Regions from separate parts of the Homo sapiens genome. Here all the other regions are linked to region 1. Evidence: promoter capture Hi-C in 16 types of primary human blood cells and fetal thymus (Javierre and others, 2016). All regions are on one chromosome and are shown on one strand. The core of a region is centred on a gene start or on the middle of the fragment in contact, and the rest is flanking DNA. Distances in the headings are between cores, read along the strand shown.

The links. Contacts are between HindIII fragments. The CHiCAGO score rates a contact against its expected background, and 5 or more counts as called.
Region 2: a fragment that was not itself captured here is called in contact with the fragment with the promoter of CFAP61-AS1 in region 1 in 1 of 17 cell types (M1 macrophages); the score reaches 6.6 in M1 macrophages.
Region 3: a contact is called between a fragment that was not itself captured here and the fragment with the promoter of CFAP61-AS1 in region 1, in 5 of 17 cell types (M1 macrophages, fetal thymus, M2 macrophages and 2 more). The highest score is 10.5, in M1 macrophages.

The regions. Positions count from the first base shown.
Region 1 is chr20:20,266,377-20,269,430 of GRCh38, reverse strand. CFAP61-AS1 (CFAP61 antisense RNA 1) reads left to right here and starts at 1,594. Exons shown (of 4, transcript NR_183979.1): 1 at 1,594-1,937. The region is part of intron 21 of CFAP61 (cilia and flagella associated protein 61); the gene reads right to left. RefSeq lists an enhancer at 1,865-2,365. The HindIII fragment of the contact is 5,830 bases long and covers 1-3,054 here.
Region 2 is chr20:20,579,318-20,582,371 of GRCh38, reverse strand. All of the region lies in intron 20 of RALGAPA2 (Ral GTPase activating protein catalytic subunit alpha 2), which reads left to right. Among named protein-coding and RNA genes, the nearest start is that of RALGAPA2, 130 kb to the left of the region's middle. The HindIII fragment of the contact is 1,229 bases long and covers 1,039-2,267 here.
Region 3 is chr20:20,562,977-20,566,030 of GRCh38, reverse strand. The region is part of intron 23 of RALGAPA2 (Ral GTPase activating protein catalytic subunit alpha 2); the gene reads left to right. Among named protein-coding and RNA genes, the nearest start is that of RALGAPA2, 150 kb to the left of the region's middle. The HindIII fragment of the contact is 894 bases long and covers 1,080-1,973 here.

The DNA.
Region 1 (3,054 bases), core at 345-2,844:
CACTGCACTCCAGCCTGGATGGCAGAGCAAGATTCTGTCTATATATGTGTGTGTATATATATATATGTACACATATACATATATGTGTATGTTACATTTTATAGTTTATATATTTTAAATTATGTCTATGCATATTTACCTATTCTTTTGTATTTTAATGAAATATATATGTATATATGCACATATACGTGTATATATATACATATATGTATATATGTGTATATATACATATATGTATATATGTGTGTGTATATACATATATGTATGTGTGTGTGTGTGTGTGTATATATATATATATATATATATATATATAGCCCACGAATAGAACCAGACAATGCGCTTTTTACTTTTTAGAAGCCAAAGCATAAGATTTCTATGCCCAAAACGTGACCTGTCCCGTTCTGCTCTGCTGAATAAAAAGGGAAGAATATATTAGATATAACATAACAAAGCCTCTGTTCGATGATGCATGCAGTGGAATTTTAATGTTATACTTTTCCTACAAACATGCTTTTAATAAGGCAGTAAACTGTATTTAGCTAAAGATGAAAATAATTGATCCATTTTGAGCCATTAAGGTAGTTTATTTTTTTTACTTTACTTTCATCCTACTTTTCATTTTCATGGAAAGTACAGAGGTAATAGCAGATGAATTTCAATTAGTTTCAATTAGTGCCATAAATTGTTATAATGTATCGGGTTGCTGGGTTCTATCAGAAACCCCCCAGCAGAACACTCCAGGTTTTGTTTGCAGTTGAAAGCAGCATTTGAGCCTGTGATGTCAGCTCTTCTCCATGGCACTAGAGCAGTTCTAATAGTTTAGGGTAATTTACTTCTATAAATCCATCCAACTCTAGAGCCCGGAAAACCATGTCCTCTGGATGGACTAATTCCATCACAGAACCACTGTGTTCTCCTTTGGAAGCAGAAGATGTGAAATACAACAGTGACTGTGGGAAGGAGCTACTCTCTGGGGTGGTATCTGTGTGCGTCTGCAATGGGTAGAAGTTCAAAGGAGAGCCGACTTCCTCCTGGGAGTATCTCTTGTTCTTGATGCCCAATATCCACTGTTCTAGAACAATCCATCCACCATTCTCCCCTCACATCCCTGGGCTTCAGTAACATCAGCACTGGTGTTTGTTAGGATTCAGGGTGTGGTTCCCGGAGGGACATGTCACCCAACCACAGCCAGTGGGACACGATGAAACTATTTTTCACTGTCCTTGGCTCCCTTGCCCCAACTCACATGCTAAAGTATTTAAAAAAGGGGAAATTAGCACTGAGGGAGTAAAAATAAACTATGATGAAAACTGTCCACATTCCTCCTGGTGTTATTAGGGTGACATGAAGAAAAAGCAAGGACTGAAATGTCCAGGACGGTCACGGATGGCTCCATGCGACTTTTCAAACGTGCATAAGCACAGCCCTGCTCCTTGCTTTCCATCATGTGCCAGACTTCTAGCTTCTGGCTTCAAATGCCAATGAGACAGGCAGGTGGGAGGGAGTCCCTAGAAAAACTCCAACCAGCCTGCACATTGGGGTGGAGCCTCCGGAAATGCATGCCATCTGCAGTGGGGAGGAGCCTGGCCCCTCCTCTTCCTGTGTGGAACCTGGGAATCAAGTAGCCGGCTTGCCTTGCGGAGGATCCTGCTTCCCCCTCCTCCACCCCATTTTTTTCCTTTCACCCAGTAAAACCCTGTTTAACTCACCCTTCAAACCGTCTGCGAGGCTACGTTTTCGTGGCCACGGGACGGACAAGGACCCCATCTTTAGCTGAACTACGGAAAAGCCCTGCAACACCACCATCTCATCGCTGACTTGGAAATAAGCTAGCAGTGGCTGTGTCAGCAAGACCACCACATGCAGCAAGGGTGGCCACTTCCAGCTAGCTCCTGCATCCACAGCTGCCTCGCCCCTATTGGCTACTGCCATCCATGGTAAGCCATTCTCCCGTGGTCACCTTCTCTCTGCTGGCATGGGTACTACAGATGGAAAGGCCATTTTCCCAAAGTGCTATGTGTGTACAGCGGCACCCGCCTGGTCAGCTCCCATCCCTAAAAGGTAACCAGTTAAACTTGGACGTGGCTGGGTGCTTGCGGCCCGCCAGTGTCTGTCCCTGCCCATGCCTCTGGCTTCATCTCCTGCTGCTGCCCTTCACAGACTCTGCCCAGCCCACGTTGTTGGCCCAGTGTCTTTTGGACACAATCCAAACTCCCCCAGCCTCTCTCTCTTCTTATCCTGTCCCTCTTCAAGACTGAGCTCAAATCCTCCTTTCTCGGGGAGGCCTTCTCCAAACTTCACAGCCTCCAGGGCTCTCCTGAAGGCCACAGTGCCTCTATAGCTGACTGGCACCTGGTGTACACGGATCCCTGTCTTTAAATAGAGACTGATATCCTCAACTTCATCAGGGCCCTGGTGGCAAGGGCTGAGACTTCTACTCTAGGGTACCTTTAATTCCATCACACATAGAAGTAAGAGCAATGCTAATGGCAGCCTCTATGAAACTCTTTCTATGTATGAGAGACTGTCCTGAGTATGGCATGTAATCTCATTTATCTCTTTTCACCCTCTCAGCAACCCATGTGAGGTAGATATTATCTAGAATCTGAGACACAAAGCAGTTAAGTAACTTGCCCAGGGAAACGGCAGACCCAAGATTTGAACCCAAGTCACGTGACTCCAGAACCTGAGCTAGACTGACTTTATAAATGTCTGTTATTCGTGAGGAGGAGCTTAACTCATCCTGTGTAGCCAGCATGTTATTACTCTCATTACTAAGGATGAATTTTTAAAGAATAGCTTCAATTTCATTCAAGGGTTCTCTTGTCTTCATCTCAATTGACCATCTATTTCCAGGTAGGCCGAATGCAAAAAGTTTTGATAAAACTCACCATGTGGGAGGTAAGGAAAAGAGTTACATCCTGAACTGTCTTCACTTACATTCAGTAAAACATTTATTTTGCATTTACTATGTGCCAGGCACTATGCTGGATACAAGTGACACTGAGATAGAGTAGAGCTGAAATTATCAAAGAAATGGCTTGGAGCTTCAGC
Region 2 (3,054 bases), core at 404-2,903, 310 kb before region 1:
GGTGGCCTTGAGCTAGTTATTTAATCTCTGTCCTTTTGTTTCTTTGCCTTTAAATTTGGGATAATAGCCCGTACTTTATGAAGGCTGTTGGAAGAATAAATGAGTGAACATCTAAGTCAGGTGCCCAAAATATTGTGTGTGGTGTAGTCTGCAGTTTTAGCTACACACACACAGACACACACACACACACACACACACACACACACACACTGTGTGACACTGGGTAAGTCAACCTCAAAGGTCAGTTTCCCTCACCTGTTTGACCAGGCTGATGAGAACGGGGAGGCCATGGAGGAGCTGGGTTTGGTTTTGCTTTGTTTTGTGGAGTGTCAGGAGAGACTCGTGGTCTGAGGAATCAGTGCGGGAAAGGCTGACCAGAGCCAAGACTTTTATGGATGCACATTCATGTTCACACACAGGTATCTTGTATGAAAACAACCACCACAAAGTAACATGTTAAGAGTGTTATTAAAATGCCAAAAAATATTTTAAAATGATTAACATAAAGGCTAAAATTTGACCTTAAATGGATTTTTTTTTTTAAACCAAGCAAACTGGTTTTCACTGTGATTTAAAATTTAACTAACGTCTCTGATATTTGGGAAATTCTTGATAGAATGTCATTAAAACTTCATAAAATTAACATATGAAGGTGGTATTCAGTAAAATTCTTTATAGACTAAATAATGATTTTGACTAATAATACTATACATTGATATGAGATTCAACATTTACAAAGAATTTTGAGGCATTCTCTTTGATTCTGTATGGGAAGCAGGCCAAGTCTTATCATGTCTGTTTTAGAGATGGGGAGATTGAGACCCAGAGAAATTGTTATCAAGCTGGAGTGTGAGTTCCAGAGATGAAACTGGCTTCCAAAATGTTTTGACTCAACGTGCAGTGCTATGTCTACTCCTTTACACTGTGTTCCTGTTAAAATTAAAATTACTGTAAAGCCCTTTGACCTACTTGAGAATCCTTACAGATTATCCAAAAGAAAGTCATCATTGTGGTACTGTAGGAGGCAAAACTGAAGCTTCAGTAGGTTGAATTTACTTAAACATGGACTAGTTTTAATTATTTTTATTGAAAGGGAAGAAAATTAGGTGATTACTTCTTTTGTCTGTTCTTTGGAAAGATTAGTTTTGATCCCATTTCAGGGTATGTATTGGACAGCTCAATTTAATAAACCTCTGTGAGGTAATTTTATATGATGCACTCCATGTTGTGATTAACTCCTCCAAATACTCCGTTCTTCTTTGAAATACTAATATAGAGAATCAGTACACGCAGTTCAATAGTTCACCTTGTCATCTGTGAAAAGGACAAACTGTAATGTGATAAGGCTTAAGGATTATCACAGTTCTGAATTTAACTTTCTGTTCTTAAGAGAGCAATTTCTTCATAAATGTTCAAAATAAAACTCATATGAGCCTGATTTTTAGGACATGCAAAGAGAAACAATTTGATTATATCTTTGTTTCTTATTGAATAATCCTACCAGTTATCAAATGCTTAGAATAATAAACTGCCTCCAAAATCTTAAATTCCTTCATCACTGGCAAACTGTTTACTTTTATATTTGCTTTCTCATTAAATCATGTTTGCTGAAAATAACAGCTAAATTTACTGTGCATTGTCTTAAAGTTTACCTGGGATTTGTTTTAATCAGATGTGGTAAGACATACAGACATGGAAATGATTGTCATGGAGGAAGAAGTTTATACTCACGGATCCCTGGAAACAGGGGTCATGCAGGGAAGTACCAGGAGGCAGAAGGAACAAAATGGGGCAACCGCTTTTAGTGTCATTTCTATGGAAATAGCAAGGCAAGGCAGGGTATGCAGTTTTAGGATTACTAATATGAATGACTTCAGTGGGCTCTGGAGCATACGGGCTGTTTCTAGTTTCCTGGTACCCAGTCCTAGGATGACAGGGCAGGGGATATTGACTTAGTATGTGAGAACTAGAGAAAGGAGGTAGTTGGAGGGTCTGAATTTTGAATTGGTAGGTTTGCATGTGAAAGACATGCTGCCTGGTGAATAGACTTCTATCTCTAGGAATTAGCTAACCCTGGAAGTGGCAGTCCTTCCCTGATCAGTGAGGCCCTAATGCCAGAGCATTGAGAAGACAGAAAATAAGAAAATATACTTAAGACATGCATACATTTAGTTCTGTTGAAATAGTCAGGGGAGGGGGACATTTATGAGTCTACAGCTAAGAATCAGTATTGTCATTTACCTCATCCCTTATTTAACAAATAAGCTTATAGTCTAGAAATACTGATTTAGATGCTCTGAGAAATAAAAAGATGAATAAGTCATAAGCCACTATAGTTTTTAAGAGCTTATAAAAAGGACAGAAGACACAACATTTATCCTAATAGTCACAAATAATGTGATAAATTCTATGACATTTACTTAAAGTTGTAATCATAGAGATAGACAAATAGACGGATGGAACAGAAGATAAAATATAGCACTGAGTGCACACAGACATGGAATCATGATATATGATATATGTGGCTTGTCAGGTCTGACAAGGAAACAATGTATTGTTCAACACATTTCTGTGGGACAAGTACTTAGCCATATGGAAAAAAATGAAATAGAATTCCTACCTCACGCCATGTCCAAAGTCAGTTTCAGAGGGATAAAGTACATAAATGTGAAAAGGAAAATTTAAAAACTTTTGGAAGAAAACGTCTTTTTTAAAAGGTTCTATGATTTTTTTTAAAAAATAGCTAACCATAAAAAAAGTGTCAGTAATTCAACCTCAGCAAAATGAAAACTGCATTACCAGAGAAACTTTTAAGAATTCTGTGGTTTAGCAGAACCACAAAGGGAAAAAGCCAGCTTTGTTGCTCTTTTCTTTCCATGTTCTTGTTAGCTCAGTGATAACTTTTAAAGTAAGGTTTGGTGAGAAATGTTATCTAGCATCTTGGTTTAGTTGGGAGATTCCAAGGTCTTTCTCTACTGGAATGCAGACTCCAGGAGGGGGACGCCTGTTGTCTGCTATGTGCACAGCTGATTCTTGCTTCCGAGAATATTGCAG
Region 3 (3,054 bases), core at 277-2,776, 300 kb before region 1:
GCTGGGTGTTCCTGCTTACCAGCTTTTTCCTGGCTGTGGAGATTTGTGATTGGTTCCCTGGCACTTCTAGACATTCTCCAGACCATCTAACACCCTCATAGAAGTCTCTTTCTTCTTAATCTCAAAACAGTGGATTCTCTTGCCTGCAAGTAAGACCCTGGCTCAGCCAGTAACTGCTCTGCAAAGTGCTGTGCTGGTCACTGGCAATACATGATCAACACTGGTTCATATTTCAGTTGCTGAATGCACTTGAGCATTAATTTAATTTTTGTATTTTTAAAATTTTAGCCACTTATTTTGTAGGCAATAATATTTAGCTTGTAGGAACATTTTGCTTTCATTTAACTCCACATTTTTATGAACGTTTTGTCACATCAATGTTAAAAAAAACCATAATTTTAAACATCATATATAGAGCAGTATTCTATCACAGAAGTCAAAGTAGTTCATGATTTTCTTAACGGGTGTTACAACCCCCTCTCATGAGGTATATGATGGAATAATATAATAATAAACAGTCGTTTGTAAAAAGATCCCATGAGGCCCCTCAGTGAGCATTAAGACTCAGCAGTGAGCTTTGAAAGCAAGGTGCAGGGGTGATACTTGTAAATTGGCCATACCTGACTCTTTTAATAACCCCAGACAGCCTGTATCATGCAGTCATATGTAATAATTGCATCACCTTTTCTCAGACAAAGAATTGTTCTTTGCTGAAAATTTAGACTTGTTACTATGGAACCATATATGTTAGATAAACATAAATTTCAAAGTATATTTAAGGTGAAACATAAGTGAGTATTCAGTTCCAGGAAAGGTAAAGAATTAGGATGGCAAATTGGAGGCCTTGTTTATCTCAAATCCCTGGAAATAATTTTAATACATGTCTCTAAAGTGCTCATTCTGTACAGCAAGTGATTTTACCAAGGTTTTAATTTATAGGATTTTAACTCAACACTAGCAGATAAAGTACTTATTTGTGAATTTAAAGATCTAACTGATGTTCCGAGGATGAAATAATAACTTTGATGTGTATCAGTAGAGGAACTTTAGACCTTTAGAAGGCTAACTTTGTTAAAGCTTCATTTAAAAACAGTTTAAAAAAAACTATAGGTTTATACAACAAGTAAAAATAGGACTAATGTGGGGCCTTATTCCTAAGGTTTCTAAGAATTGGAAAATGTACTTCCAAGAATTCAGGATATAAGATGGCTTCAGAATATATTGACTTTCAAGAATAACATATGACTCTCATGGATGGCAGGCCTGATACTGGGAACTAAAATACCTTAGAGCTAGACTCAGCTTTGTCACTCACTGGCCATGGGGCCCTCACCTATCCACAAGTAGTCAAGTGAATGAATTGGGCTAGAGAGCCTCTCAGACCCTTTCCCATTAAGCATTCTTAGATCCTCTGATTTATTTTTAGGCACTTTATTATTAGGGTCACATCACTCCTTCCTAAATGTGGCACAAAGTTCAATGATCTTTTTATGTTGAATATTTTTTCCTGCCATGGTAAAGACCTAGTCAGGTTATGAGAGTGTGAGATGCATAAACAAGTATCTGTACTAACCATCAACTTGTGCAGAAGACCAAATAAGTAGTGATATACATGTTATGAAAATTGAACTGTTGAATATCCTTTTAGCTAAGTTGATTTGAAAGCAGCTCACAAAGGAGAGGGGATTTAGCAGGACTTTCAAGAATGGATAGGATTTAAATAGCAGGACAAGAAGCATGATGGAGTTTCACATCAAAGATACAGAACTTTTCAGGCTGTGTTCAGGAACAATGACTAGAGTGGCTTTGATTTAATGCCAGATATATGCGTAGAAATAATATATGGTCATGAATCCAGGCAGCACTGTAGAGAGCCTTGATTCAAAGTAGTTTTCATCCCATGGACAGTGGGGAGCTGTTGAAGGTTTTTGAGCATGATACTCCACATGACCACAAGAGCATTTTAAGAAGCTTAAACCACAGTGATAAAGTGGGGGTGAATTATAATCATGAAAGAATGATGACAACAAACACAGAAAGGAAATTATTATAATAGCCCAGGGGCAAGGTAATGAGGGCTAACAAGGACTGAGGCACAGATGGGGTTTGTGTGTGTGTGTGTCTATGTGTATAATTCATTATATGTGTATATATTTTGTATATATATGCACATATGTGTTTTGTGCATGTGTGTGTGTGTGTGTTTGTCTGTGTGTGAGAAATATGTTGGAGAGGTAGGATGTAGTACTGATTGGTAAGCATCCTGAGAAAGTAGTGTCCTGGCACGATTCCCATTATCTGTCAAGGCAAATGTTGGTTCAGAAAGGCAAGAAGATGAATTGAGAAAAGGAAGACATGTGGGCATGATAGGATAAAGGGACTGTAAGTTTCGACTCATGTCTTGATGACCCTTCCTCACCTTGGACATTATAGCATAGGACAGGCCAAATGGGTGCATCCGAGGATACACCAAGGGGTGTCCCCAAAGAATTCTTGCCTGTTAGGAATTAGAAATGTGCAGGAAAGATTTCCAGGGACATTTTCTCTGTACTTAAGAGAACATATTTTCTAATTCTGTTGGAATTCAAGCAGTTGGTATGCAAATTGTAAATGTATTTATAATTATTAAAATGGGACATCTAAAGGGCTCTGTAATTGATGTTTTTGTTAGCCAAGACATATATTTGTTACTAATTATTTCTGAAAGTAATGTAGCACTTAAAAACAAGTCCTTTTATTTTTCTAAAAATACAACTTCTGACCTGAATTTACTTTACTCAAGTTAATGAAATATTATTGAATATAAGGGGAGTTTACTGTAGCAATAAACAAAACTTCCAAGTTTGACTTAGGTTTGATTGAAGGATAATATTTATAAGGACAGGTGAGAGATGACAGTCCTCTCCTGACATGTATTGTTAAGTTAATCATAATTCCTGTTTGTGCTTATTGTACAAATTCAGAGTGATAAAATACAGAAGCTGTCATATAATTAACGTTACACCATCAGGTAGCATCCACTGCCTTCCGAGTGTTTTCCACAAGGTTTTGTGG